Linked DNA regions of Homo sapiens: all the other regions are linked to region 1. The links are contacts of gene promoters, found by promoter capture Hi-C in blood cells and fetal thymus (Javierre and others, 2016). All regions are on one chromosome and are shown on one strand. The core of a region is centred on a gene start or on the middle of the fragment in contact, and the rest is flanking DNA. Distances in the headings are between cores, read along the strand shown. Region 1 holds the start of PIK3CA (phosphatidylinositol-4,5-bisphosphate 3-kinase catalytic subunit alpha). Region 2 has its middle 2.7 kb from the start of FXR1. Region 3 overlaps TBL1XR1 (TBL1X/Y related 1). Region 4 has its middle 64 kb from the start of LINC00501.

Region 1 (3,244 bases), core at 165-2,664:
AGAACATTGGTTCGAGAAAAACATTTAGAAACACAAACCCCTGGAATGTGAGATGAAAATCCGAGCTAAAGGGAGAAAAAGGACGAAAGAAAGAAAACACAGAAAAGAAAGAAATACAGTCAAGTGAAACTACGACCACAAAGAGGAACAGATCCATCTCATTTACCATTGGGGTATGGACGGACGTGCGGTGTTCGAGAAGACTGTTATTGGTCAGAGTTTTGCTCTAGAGGACAAGTAGGACTGTAACATCTCTAGGATGGGTCACTTCCCAAGCCCTCTATTACTTAAAAATTCAAGGAGGAACCGATGCTGGAGTACTTGTATCTCAGACTTCTAATCACTGCTCCTACGCTTTTCCAATATTACAACAAAAGACCAGTAGGGGGAGAAAAACGCACAGTACCGAACCCTTATCAGTAGTAATCTCAAAAGTCAACAGATTGATTTACTCTCAAGCAAACAGACTTCTAAGGTACGCAGCACCAAGACACTACCTTGAATCAAATCTATAGCCTATATGACATTTCTGAAGTCTCTGTTGGCATTACGCGAAAAATCCCCCACGTCTTCTGAATAGTTAGAATTGAATCCTACAAGCTGCTTCGAATCAGAATTCGATTTAAAAAAAAAAATGAGGGCATAGCAAAAGGTCTCCACGAAGTGAGTCAAAGGACTGCAGAGGGCTGTGACAGTGCATTCCGCCTTCGGGATGGTATACAACTTAAACCATGTCGGCAGAAGAACGCACAGCAACGCTTTGTAAAAAGCATTCTTTCTATTATAGAATCCATAACCACGCTGGTTAGCCACTGACAGCGGCGGTTAGCCACCGCACCTCCTCTCACCCCCGAACTAATCTCGTTTCCTCTATGGGTGTAAAAGTGAAATAACCCACTTGCTCCCAATATTCCTTTCTATATCTCTACCCCAGCTCGCCTGCTGCTCGTAGAAACAAATATACTACACGTACGCTGTCCTAGGATGACACAACACCCTCACTACTGCAGAAGACGGATCATTAAACAAACGTCAGAAGAGCAGCCCCAACTGTACATAAACTTCGGGCGGAAAAGCAAGACGCAGGCGCAGTAGCACATATTGTTACCCTATTTGCCCACTCCCTGCTCCTCCTCGCCTCAATTTCGCTTCCGCTTCTTTGCGCATCTGCTTCCGGGGGATTGTAGGCTCTGCCCCTCCTCAGCTCTTACCCTCTTCTGCCGGAGGAGGGGGGGGGCCGAGGGGGTGGGGAAGAGTTCGTTGTTTGTTTACACGATGTGAGCGGAAAAAGAGACCAATAAAGTTTATTCTGGAAACAAAAGGAAAAAAAAACAGGGGCGACGGAGAAAGGAGTCGGGGGCGGGGGCGTGTGGCGGGGGCTAGCGAGGAGAGGGAGCGAGAAGTAGAAAGCGGCAGTTCCGGTGCCGCCGCTGCGGCCGCTGAGGTGTCGGGCTGCTGCTGCCGCGGCCGCTGGGACTGGGGCTGGGGCCGCCGGCGAGGCAGGGCTCGGGCCCGGCCGGGCAGCTCCGGAGCGGCGGGGGAGAGGGGCCGGGAGGCGGGGGCCGTGCCGCCCGCTCTCCTCTCCCTCGGCGCCGCCGCCGCCGCCCGCGGGGCTGGGACCCGATGCGGTTAGAGCCGCGGAGCCTGGAAGAGCCCCGAGCGTGAGTAGAGCGCGGACTGGCCGGTAGCGGGTGCGGTGGGAATGGGGACCGGGTGGGTGCCGGAGACTCCCGGGCGCGCCCGCCGTGTTGGGCGGAGGCTACGGGCTGGTCGTCTCCCAGCGTCGGCCCGCGGCGGAGTTCGCCTGCGATCGCCGCACCCTCTCCCTCGCCTGCCTCTGGCCTCTCCTAGCTGCAGAGGCGAGGGCTCGCCGCTCCCTCTCCTTTCTCTCTGGCTGCCGCCTCGCTCTTCCTTTGCTTCTACTCCCAGTTTTGGGGACGGGGCGGCTGGAGGTTGAGGAAGTGCGCCCAGGGCCGCCGCCCCGGCCGCGGTGGCTCTGTCTCCCGCGCCCTGCACGCCCACCCAGCCCGCGGGTGGAGGGGCTGCCGCGAGGACTGCGGCTCAAGGGACGCGGGCGCGAAACCGCGAGCTTTTCTTGAGGGGCTGTCACGCCCGAGGACTCCGGCCCCGCCAGCCTGGCGGCCCTGCGTTTGCCTCTTACTGGGTTTAAATCGCCCGGCAGGGGTATGGAAGGAACACCGCTCCCCTCACCCCCGCCAGCTCCCCTCCCACCCTTCCTTTCGAGGTTGTTTTTTCCTTTTAGCTGAGACAAACGCTTAGATCTTTCATTCATAGACCTGAGACACTGACTCATGTGACTTGTCTCTTTACTAAGTGTATTATGTGATGCCTGTTCCATGGCTCTTAAGTGGCTCGGAAAGGTAGGGTAGGGCCCGGGATTGGGCTATGTAAACACCAGACGTTCAGCCGGCGTGTTTTTGACCTCGGCTCGAGGGGTTTATTTTAGGATGCTAAAGGAATAGTGATGGTGGCCAACCGTGTTACCAGACTTGGGAATCGAAAGCTATTTTTTTATGTCAATAATTGAGACTGTTTACATGGTTAAATAAAGGGTAGGGTAAAGGGAGCGCAACAAGAGGGTCTTTCTAGAAAACAGTCTGCATATTCTTTAATGAATTAGAGTTGTGATTTCATCTTGGTGAAGCTTCCTCATTCCAGCACTGCGCCTTTGTGCACATGCAGGACCTGGGTTTTCGGAACGATGTTTTGAATCATAGTTTGTGTGGCCGGGGAGAACCCCTTAGAATACTTGGGTAGGTAAATTCCAGGTTATCTCAGGGGATTATTTCTACTGCGACTTTTGAACCACTGAGGGCAATATTGGTCATATGTTATCCTGCTTAGAAATTGAATTTTTCTGAGTATTTGCTTACATTGCACCGTACAAAATTTGTTTATGTGCTGGATTGCGTGTTTTAAGAAAACTTCTGGAAAATACTCAAAATACCGTGTTGCTAAGTTAGTTTGGATAAATCAAAACACTTTGCTTTCAAAGCAACTACAGTCTTAACAATTTAACGTGTCTTTGTATTCAGGTTTTAAGTTTTTGGTGTTTTTTTTTTTTCCTTTTAACTGAAGCACTGAGGTCCGATTGACAGCATAGATCTCCATCTAAACATCACATGTTCTGGAAATTTTTAATTATCAGATTAACTGTTCTGCAGTGTCATCAGCCAAAATTATCTGAAGAGGACTGTGTGTGTTTACGTGTGTGTGTGTGTGT
Region 2 (3,453 bases), core at 581-3,080, 1.8 Mb after region 1:
GCCAAGATCGGGCCACTGCACTCCAGCCTGAGCAACAAAGTGAGACTCTGTCTCAAAAAAAAAAAAAGGAAAAAGAAATAGTACTGCTTTTCAATACAGAAAACTTGGAAAATATAGAAACTCACAAAGAAGGCAGGGCATGGTAGCTTATGCCTCTAATCCCAGGACATTAGGAGGCCCAGGCAGGAGGATTGCTTGAGCCCAGGAGTCCAGGGTTGGCCTGGTTAACACAGCGAGACCCCAATCCCTATTTAAACATACATACACACACACACACACACACACACACACACACACACGCACACACACAGAAAGAGAGACAGAGAAATAAACATTCATGATGCCACTACCCTAAGAGAACCACTGTTAGCATTTTGGTAAAGTCTTTGTAATACATTTTCATGCAATATACATATATGTATCCTGTACAAAATTGGTTGCATATATAAGCTGCTTTTTACAGTTATAGACATCTTCTCATATCAGTAGATAGTCTTCTATAATTTCATTGCTAGTGGCTGTAGAAGATTCCATGGTATAGTATTTAAAAATGAAAATATCTTTTTTTTTTTGAGACAGTGTATTGCTCTGTTGCCCTGGCTGGAATGCAGTGGTGCAAACACAGCTCACTGCAGCCTCGACCTCCAGGCTCAAGCAATCCTCCTGCCTCAGCCTCCTGAGTAGCCTGGACTACAGGTGCACACCACCACGCCCTGCTAACTTTTGTCGCTTTTGTAGAGACGAGCTCTCATTATGTTGCCCAGCCTGGCTTTAAACTCCTGGCCTCAAGTGATCCCCCTGCCTTGACCTTCCAAAGTGCTGGAATTAAAGGTATGAGCCACTGTGCCCAGCCAAAAAGAACTTTTTTTTTTTTGATCAGGTAACATGCTCATTGTGAAAAATTCAGATGAGGCAAAAAATATAGACATTATATAGTTTACGTAAATCATTAGCCCATCTTCTGGAAATATCCTCTAATAATATATGGAAATATTAACTTTCAGACTTTATATATGTATATACACACTGCATATATATTTTAATATGATTATGTATGGTGTTTTGTGACATTCTTTAAAGTGAACATCTTTTTATGATGATGAAAATAGATCTACATCAAAATTTTAAAGTTTGTGTAATGTCCCATTTTGAATATTATATGGAGGCTGCAAACAGTCATTGATGTGGCACTGGAAATGGAAAGTAAGAGGGCTCAAATCGTAGTTCTGACACTTACAGCTTGTCTGATCTTACATGTGTTACTGGTTGCTATAGGGCTCAGTTGCTTAATTGAAATCACGAAGTCTACCTAGAAGAAGTAGTAAAGTGTTGGCTGGGTTCCAAATTCAAATGTTTTCGCTATGCAAGGCCTGAAGAGGGACAATACTTATTCTTTAGAGTTCAGGCAGTATGAGATGCTTTGGCCTGTGCCCAAGTGGAACTTTCGCATCCATACTCAAAATCACTCACATTGAGAACAAACAAAAAATACACTGAAAGCCAAAACAGAGAGAGAGAGAGGAGAGAAGAGAGAAGAGAAAAGGAAGAGAAGGGAGGGGAGGGGAGGACAGGAAAGGAGAGGGGAACCCATAAAGAAAAGCACACTGGGACCCTCATACACTGTTGGTGGGAATGCAAATAATGCAGCCACTTTGGAAAAGTCTGGCAATTCCTCAAAAGGTTTAAACATGGAGTTATCACGAGTCAGCAATTCCATTTCTAGCTATATACCCAAGAGAAACAAAAACATACATCTGTCTATACCAAAACATATACAGCAATTTTCATAGCAGCATTATTCCTAACAGCCAAAAAGTAGAAACAAAGCAAACTTCTATCAATTGATGAATTAATAAATAAAATGATGTGGTATATCCATACAACAGTATATTTGACAAAAAGGAATGAGTAGTAATACATTCTACAACATGGATGAAACTATAATACATTATACTAAATGAAAGAAGCCAATCATAGGCCAGGTGCAGTGGCTTACATTTGTAATCCTAGCACTCTGGGAGGCTGAGGCGGAGGCAGTGGATAACTTGAGCTTAGGAGTTCGAGACCAGCCTGGGCAACATGGTGAAACCCCATCTCTACAAAAAATACAAAGATTAGGCTAGGCGGGCGTGGTGGGTGGTGTCTGTACTCCCAGCTACTTGTGGGGCAGGGGGTTGAGGCGGGAGAATCACTTTAGTCCAGGAGGTGGAGGTTGTGGTGAGTGGAGATCAAGCCACTGCACTCCAGCCTGGGCAACAGAGTGAGACTCTGTCTCAAAAAAAAAAAAAAAGGAAAAAGAAAAAAGAAAGCCAGTCATAAAACAACACATATTCCGCGATTTCATTTATATTAAATATCTAGACTAGGCCAATCTATATAGGTAGAAAACAGGATAGTGATTTCCTAGGGCCTGGGGAGCTGGGGTTAAATCTAGAGTGAACGCTAACAGGTATGGGGTTATTTTTGCAGTGATGAAAATGTTCTAAAATTGACTGTGGTGATGGTTGCACAAATCTGTGAATATACTAAAAACTACTGAATTGTACATTATAAATGGGAGAATTATATCTAAAGAAAACTTTTTAAGAAAGCAAATGGGACATTATAATTCTGAAGGATCACAATGAGATACAATATAGAGTGTTAGCATAAGGTGCCCTTAATAAATGGTGGCTATTACTCATTGATGGGCATTTAGTTGTTTACATTTTTCTCATGATGATCAACACTTTAAAAAGAACATCCCAGCCCAGTGTGGGATGGCCAAGAGTTCAAGGTTACAGTGAGCTATGATTGTGCCACTGCACTTCAGCCTTGGCGATAGAGATCCTGTCTTAAAAAAAAAAAAAAAAATAGGCCGGGAGTGAATACATAGGCTGGGCACGGTGGCTCATGCCTGCAATCCCGAGGCAGGCAGATCATGAGGTCAGGAGTTCCAGACCAGCCTGGCCAACATGGTGAAACCCCATCTCTACTAAAAACACAAAAAGATTATCTGGGTGTGGTGGTGCGCGCCTGTAATCCCAACTACTCCGGAGGCTGAGGCAGGAGAATCACTTGAACCAGCAGGCGGAGGTTGCAGTGAGCTGAGATCTCATCACTGCACTCCAGCCTGGGCGATAGAGCGAGATTGTCTAAAAAAATAATAATAAATAAAATAAAATAAAATAAAATAAATATTGTAGTCCTAGCTACTCGGGAGGCTGAGGTGGCAGCATCACCTGAGCCTGGGAAGTCCAGGCTGCCACGTAATCACGCCACTGCACTCCATCTTGGGTAACAGAGTGAGACCCTGTCTCTAAATAAATAAATAAATAGAATATCCTGTACATAACAACAGTGAGCACTTTCACAGCCCTCATTTTTTCCCAGAATCTTCAGAGATGCAGACGTGCTCATAAAATGTTGTGTACATTTTATTTTTTTAGAATCTGAAAAACTGGGTCAGTGGGC
Region 3 (3,456 bases), core at 141-2,640, 2.0 Mb before region 1:
ATACCATGAAAATAAAGATATTAAAGGAAAAAAAATCATTCTCAAAAATGTGTTTGGTGATATTATTTTAATTCTCTCTTCCATGAAACAGAATGTAACAAATGCACCTGAACTCACAAGTTTAATGAATAAAATAGAAGTTTCCTCTTCAGATATCTAAAAAATATTTTGAGACTAATGTATTCAAAATTGAGAACGTGCCTGGAAAACGCAAATGTTTTAAGAAAAACCAGTGCAGGCAGAGATCAGTATTGTACACACTCCCTGTAATTTGGGTGAACACACTTAATTTTTTAAATTATATATGCAATCATAGGGTTAAAGAACATTAGGTCCAGAAAAAACCTCTCAGAGATTCAACATAACGTGTTAAGGATGAAGCAACTGAAATCCAGAAACAAATATCTTAAGTCACAAAAGGCTTATTCTACATGGCAACCCATTTACTTATTTTGGTGACCTAATGAAGCATTAAAATAATAAGTTATTCAGGCCAGGCGCGGTGGCTCATGCCTGTAATCCTAGCACTTTGGGAGGCCGAGGCGTGCGGATCTCGAGGTCAGGAGATCGAGACCATCCTGACTAACACGGTGAAACCCCATCTCTACTAAAAATACAAAAATTAGCCGGGCGTGGTGGTGGGCGCCTGTAGTCCCAGCTACTCAGGAGGCTGAGGCAGGAGAATGGCGGGTGAACCCAGGAGACAGAGCTTGCAGTGAGCCCACATAGCGCCACTGCACTCCAGCCTGGGCAACAGAGCGAGACTCTGTCTCTAAAAAAAAAAAAAAATTAATTAAAATAAACAAATAAATAAATTTGCAGCACTGATATCTGGGGGAAAATTTAAAAAGTAAAATAAATAAAAATCAATAAAATAATAAGTTGTTCAGAATATGTAACTTGTTAATTTTCTTGTTTTTTGTTTTTGAGATGGAGTCTGGCTCTGTCGCCCAGGCTGGAATGCAGTGGTGCGATCTCGGCTCACTGCAACACCTCCGCCCCCTGGGCTCAAGCGATTCTCCTGCCTCAGCCTCCCGAGTAGCTGCGATTACAGGCTTGCGCCACCATGCCTGGCTAATTTTTGTATTTTTAATAGAGACGGAATTTCACCATGTTGGCCAGGCTGGTCTCGAACTCCTGACCTCAGATGATCCACCCACCTCGGCCTCCCAAAGTACTGGGAATACATGTGTGAGCCACTGGTTAATTTTCTTAAATGCTAATATTATTTAAATGTTTGATTATGGCTGGGCAAGCTGGCTCACACCTGTAATCCCAGCACTTTGGGAGGCCAAGGCAGGTGAATCACCTGAGGTCAGGAGTTCGAGACCAGCCCGGCCAACATGGAGAAACCCTCATCTCTATTAAAAACACAAAAAATTAGCCAGGCGTGATGGCGCATGCCTGTAATCCCACCTATTCAGGAGGCTGAGGCAGCAAAGTCACTTGAACACGGGAGGCAGAGGTTGCAGTGAGCCAAGATTGCGCCACTGCACTCCAGCCTGGGCAGAAGAAAAACTCTGTCTCAAAAAAGAAATTTAAAAATTAGCTGGCTATGGTGGGGCACGTCTGTAGTCCCAGCTACTGACGAGGCTGAGGTGGGAGGATTCCTTGAGCCCAGGAGGTCAAGGCTGCAGGAGGCAGTGATCGCACCACTTTACTCCAGCTTGGGCAACAAAGGGAAGCCATCTCAATTTTTTGAAAAAGGAAAATAGCAGGGCTGTTGACAGAGATTACTGGTAGCATCCAAATGGGTCTGGTTCCGGTTGCTCCTAAATCCCAGCTGACTCAATGCTCTTCCCAATCAATCAGTCCACTTTTGGATTCCATATGCCAATGCCAATGAATACCCTTTTTAACTTAAGCCAAAAGTTTGCATGAAGTTTCTATCATATAACTAAAGGAGTTCTGACCCATGCACTTTGGGAGTCCAAAGCAGGCGGATCACGAGGTCAGGAGTCCGAGACCAGCCTGACCAACACGGTGAAACCCCATCTCTACTAAAAATACAAAAATTAACCGGGTGTGGTGGCGTGCGCCCGTTATCCCAGCTACTCAGGAGGCTGAAGAAGGAGAATCACTCGAACCCAGGAGGCAGAGGTTGCAGTGAACCGAGATTGCGCCACTGCACTCCAGCCTAGGCGACAGAGCAAGACTCCATCTCAAAAAAAATAAAAATAAAAATAAAACATTAACTTCTCATTTATGATTATCATCAGTACAAAGCACATTTTCAGATTGGTCCATCAATTATCCATTTACCCGTTTTTTCTATTATTTGACTCGATTGCCATCTTTAAGTATGGCACTCACATATGTCCCTGGGCTTCCAAATTTCAACATTTAGTAAAACCTCTTCTGACCCTCCCCTAAATGCTAACCTTTTAATAAATTATTTCCAGTACTCTAATTATAAGGATGAACCAATTTAAGACTACCAGCTAATCATGAAAACATACCTAAGACAACAATCCACTCAACTATTTATTACGAACCTGCTAGGTCCTGTTCTAGGTAGCTGCAGACAGAATGACACATAAAATAGAGCCCCTCCCTGTTCTCATGCAGTTTAAATTCTGGAGGGACGTTTAAAAAAAAAAACAATGATCAAAGTTACTTCAGAGAGACAAAACTGCAACGTGGAGAATAAGGGTCTGATGGCTGAAAACTGCCGCGGGTGGGCAGTAATTTCAGTGTAACCTCTCTGAGGTGTTGGCATTGGAACTGAGAGGGAATGACATAAAAGAATCAGCTATATAACAATCTCAGGGCAGAGTATGAGGCAAAGAACAAAGTAATTAAGACGCTGAGACAGGAATAAGCTTGTTCAGTGGGTGTGGAGCTGGAATGGCTGGGCACGGTGAACAAGGTGAAACAAGATAAGGTTTGTGAGGTGGCCAGGGGCCAGATCGCACAGCAGAGTTTGGGGAGGAGGGACCCTCATAGGCTAAGATGTTTGAACTTTATACTGAGTGTGATCAAAAACCCTTAAAGGAAGGGGAAAGAGAAGAAAATGACATTTACTGGGCATCTAATATAGTACCAGATTTTAAAAATAAGTATAAATGTTTCTTCTGTGCACTCTATAAAACAATATAAGCATTCCCGGAAAACTTGACTTTACACAGTCACATGCTAAAAGTAACAAGCACTTTATGAGAAAAAAAAAGGAAGACCATCCCTATGCCACTTTGTAACCAAAATATTAACAAAGGCAATGTGAATAAAAATACAAATAAAAATGTTTAATATTAAGTTCCTAATAAAGATACAACTTTCAGGTGAAGGAAGCACACTAAGCAGGTAATTCCAGCACTTTGGGATGCCCAGGCAGGCGGATCACCTGAGGTCAGGAGTTCGAGACCAGCTTGACCAACATGGAGAAGCCCTAATTATACAGGAATCCAGCGATCTATTGGAAAAATAAAGGAGATGGGACCATATTTTAAGACAAGT
Region 4 (3,052 bases), core at 360-2,859, 1.8 Mb before region 1:
CACTGCACTCCAGCCTGGGCAACTGAGCGAGATTCTGTCTCAAAAAGAAAAAAAAAAAAATCAGGAATTGTCTCTGGGGCATGAGCAGCCAGCTGGATGTGGTACCATTATCTGGAAGTGAGATATCTAGAAAGAGGGAGAATGTAAGGCATAAGGATAAGAGAAAAAGTGGGGGTGGGAAATAGACACTGCTTGGAAAACAAAGTAACATCAGGGAGGTCTGGAAATAAAATGTTTCAAGTAGTTGGAAAGTCAACCAGATAAAATGCTGCTGAGAGACAGCAAGGGGTGCAGACTGAGAAATCATTAGTCTTAGCACTTACTCTTCCATAACCCTCAAAGCTTGTCTAACAGTGATTCTTTTCTGCCTTTCTCCTTCATTATATGATAAATTGCTAGAGGGTTTAGACCTCCTTTTAAATTCACCTTTATCTCTCTGGGCTCAACAGGGTGCCTTAGGAACAGGGTAGACTGCACAGTTCCTGACTGAAAATAACACTGGCAAGGAAACACCCCAAGGTGCTATCAGCTGCCAGATGCCAGAAGGAAATGGAAGGGCCTGGACTGCTCCCTAAAGAGCCTGACCCAGAAGCGGTGTGTAACAGGTTCCACTCAATGCCTTATAGGCTGAAAATTGCTCTGTCTTCTCAGAGCTAGAAAGGGTGTTCAGATAAGGCAGGGTGGGACCCTGACTCATGGACACACAATTAGCCGGCTTTTGTCTTTGAATCTGACTGGAAGTGACTCATGAGCTGGAAAAAAACCCTTTGGAAACAAATGAAGGGGGAAAAAAGGAGGGTAAGCCACGACTGCATTTTACTCTGTTAAAATGCAGATCTGCTGTCCTATAAATGTAGAATACTGTACATTTCCTCAGCCTCCCTCCAACAAAGACCCAGGGGAAATTATTAAGCCTGACAATTCACTCATTTTCTCCAAGATTTTTATTAAATGCAATTTAGAGGGGATAAAGTTTCTTCTCTTTTCTCTTTCTATTCACTTGAATAAGCCCTAATTACCACTAGGGTACAATAAATGGGCTTCTAGAAGTCTGTGGCAATTGGCGATGCTTCCCCTTTAAATTAACCAGTTGAAGCCTCCAGTTTCAACAGCCACCAGGGCACTTCCCGTCCACTCACAACTTGCTCAGTGCAATCTGAAGAGCATTTATTGAGCACCTTGTTATGGGGCACTGACATATGCTGCGGAGGATAGAAGACTTCTCGGGGGGTTATAATGGGGCTGGGGAGCTCTTGAACTCAACTGACATACTGTGTAAGTTAAACTAGTAAATGCCATGGGATTTTTGGATTAGAAGCAACAAAAACACAAACTAGGTTAAACAATAAGAATTTGTGGCAAAAAATAATGGGCTGTCGCAAGGAATCGGGGGCAGGCAGGGCTGTACCAGGGACACAGGAACCGATGCTGCCAATAACATTAGACTCCTGTTGGCCTCAGCGCTCTCTCCCAGCCTGTCTGGCTGTGGCTGAGGCTCTATCTTTGTTTTCTGCTCGATCTTTATCTCTGTTTCTGCCTTCAGATTGGCCTTGCCTCTCCTCTCCTGACCATGGGAAACATGGTCATGTATGTTATAATATCTTGCAGTTTTAGCCCTGGGGAGAAACTGACTTTTTCACTTCCAGTTTCAAAATTTCCCAAGAAGGCTTTTGATTGGATTCAAATATGTCAGCTCTTCCCGCTGGGACCAATCCCCTGTGGCAAGGTGGGGGAGGGAAATTTGAGAAGGGCCGTGAATGGTCCAGCTTAGGTCAGAGGTACAGTTTCCACGTCCCCACCCCCACCCCCGCCCCGTCAACAAAACAGCTCTGCCCTGTAAGCCTGTGGGTGTGGGTGAAGGTGGAAGTGGGTCGGAAGAGGCTGCGGGCTCCACTTTGCCAGGAGTGTAGGGGGAAGGGCTGAGTTGAGGAAACAATGGGTCTAGCACTTCTGCTGACCTTGTTTTCAGAAACAACCACAGGGCCTCTGGCCCCAGTGGAACTTGACTCATAAAGGCGAGAGACTTGACTATTGAAAAAGGTCTCCTATGAAATCTGAATTTCACTTAATCCTCAGAACAACTGTTGAGGGGGTTGTTACTACTCCCATTTTAAGACGCGGGCTGTAGAGAGGGTAACCACCCTGTCCACATTCACACAGCGAACACGTGGTGGGGCAGGGCTCAAGTCCAGGCGATTCCAAAGTCCCCCCGTGCTGTTTGCGCCACGCGGTGCTCCCACCAAGCCCACTCCGCGGGGAGAAAAACCATAGGCCTCGGAGGAGGAGCGGCTCCTCGCAGTGGGGTGGGGCAGAGGCCAGCATGAGGCCTTGTTCACTGGAGGATTCCACAGGCCTGGAACGGAAAGAATGAGAGCTCTGCAGGCAGGCAGAGCCCAGGGCGCCCAGTGCCCCCAGGCTGCGACAGCCAAGTCGGTGGGCGCGCATGGCGGGGCTTGAAGGAAAGGTCCAGAGCCGGTGGGAAAGGCCACGCCCCGGGGTAGAGCGCTTCCTTCCAGATCCCGGCCTTTAACTGCAATTCCGTTTTAAGGGCAACCCTGCCCGGTTCACACCTAGCCTTGAAGATGACAGATTGCACTGTGAGCAATTTGCAGGGTGAGAACGGGAGCCTACGACTCCGCACCTGCACTGCCAGAGCCATAAATGCAGCAAATCATGGCCTATAAAATGTCACCACTGCTGAAGTGCAATTTTCCAGGGGTCTTCTGCAGAGGGAACTCCACCACGGAGAGCGACCCTCGGCTCTGCAGCCTAAGAGGAAGGCCCCTGCAGGGTGGGGGAGGGAACAGGGAGGTCTTCCTCCCCATCCCCTTCGTGCCACTGCTCCCCCCTTTGTGACCCCACTCTGCCACGTGGTAAAAGCTTCCGGGGGGAGGCATTAGTTATTTCTGTCTGAGGAGTTTTTGACCAAACGTAAACATCAGAGGAGCGGGAACCCGAGCCCCGCCTGGGCTGGGCGGCAGCGACCCCGACGCCGCGGCGGCAGAGCCGGAGCTCGAAGCAGCCGCCGCTGTTGCGAGCCGCCCCTCCCCCG

Evidence for each region. The method cuts DNA at HindIII sites, captures the fragments that hold promoters and counts their contacts. A CHiCAGO score of 5 or more calls a contact.
Region 2: a contact is called between a fragment that was not itself captured here and the fragment with the promoter of PIK3CA in region 1, in 6 of 17 cell types (fetal thymus, monocytes, naive CD8 T cells and 3 more). The highest score is 9.8, in fetal thymus.
Region 3: a contact is called between a fragment that was not itself captured here and the fragment with the promoter of PIK3CA in region 1, in 1 of 17 cell types (naive CD4 T cells). The highest score is 5.4, in naive CD4 T cells.
Region 4: a fragment that was not itself captured here is called in contact with the fragment with the promoter of PIK3CA in region 1 in 1 of 17 cell types (fetal thymus); the score reaches 5.5 in fetal thymus.

What each region holds. Positions count from the first base shown.
Region 1 is chr3:179,146,943-179,150,186 of GRCh38, forward strand. PIK3CA (phosphatidylinositol-4,5-bisphosphate 3-kinase catalytic subunit alpha) reads left to right here and starts at 1,415. Exons shown (of 21, transcript NM_006218.4): 1 at 1,415-1,661. It overlaps PIK3CA-DT (PIK3CA divergent transcript), which reads right to left and starts at 1,031. Exons shown (of 3, transcript NR_125401.1): 1 at 974-1,031. RefSeq lists enhancers at 130-239, 850-969, 1,779-2,278, 2,840-2,889 and silencers at 1,460-1,929, 1,990-2,039. The HindIII fragment of the contact is 3,906 bases long and covers 1-2,663 here.
Region 2 is chr3:180,908,223-180,911,675 of GRCh38, forward strand. No RefSeq gene overlaps it. Among named protein-coding and RNA genes, the nearest start is that of FXR1, 2.7 kb to the right of the region's middle. RefSeq lists an enhancer at 3,439-3,453. The HindIII fragment of the contact is 8,016 bases long and covers 1-3,453 here.
Region 3 is chr3:177,175,286-177,178,741 of GRCh38, forward strand. All of the region lies in intron 1 of TBL1XR1 (TBL1X/Y related 1), which reads right to left. Among named protein-coding and RNA genes, the nearest start is that of TBL1XR1, 20 kb to the right of the region's middle. The HindIII fragment of the contact is 2,860 bases long and covers 1-2,820 here.
Region 4 is chr3:177,356,921-177,359,972 of GRCh38, forward strand. No RefSeq gene overlaps it. Among named protein-coding and RNA genes, the nearest start is that of LINC00501, 64 kb to the left of the region's middle. RefSeq lists enhancers at 1,195-1,394, 1,515-1,754, 1,641-1,935, 2,609-3,052, 2,961-3,052. The HindIII fragment of the contact is 2,538 bases long and covers 341-2,878 here.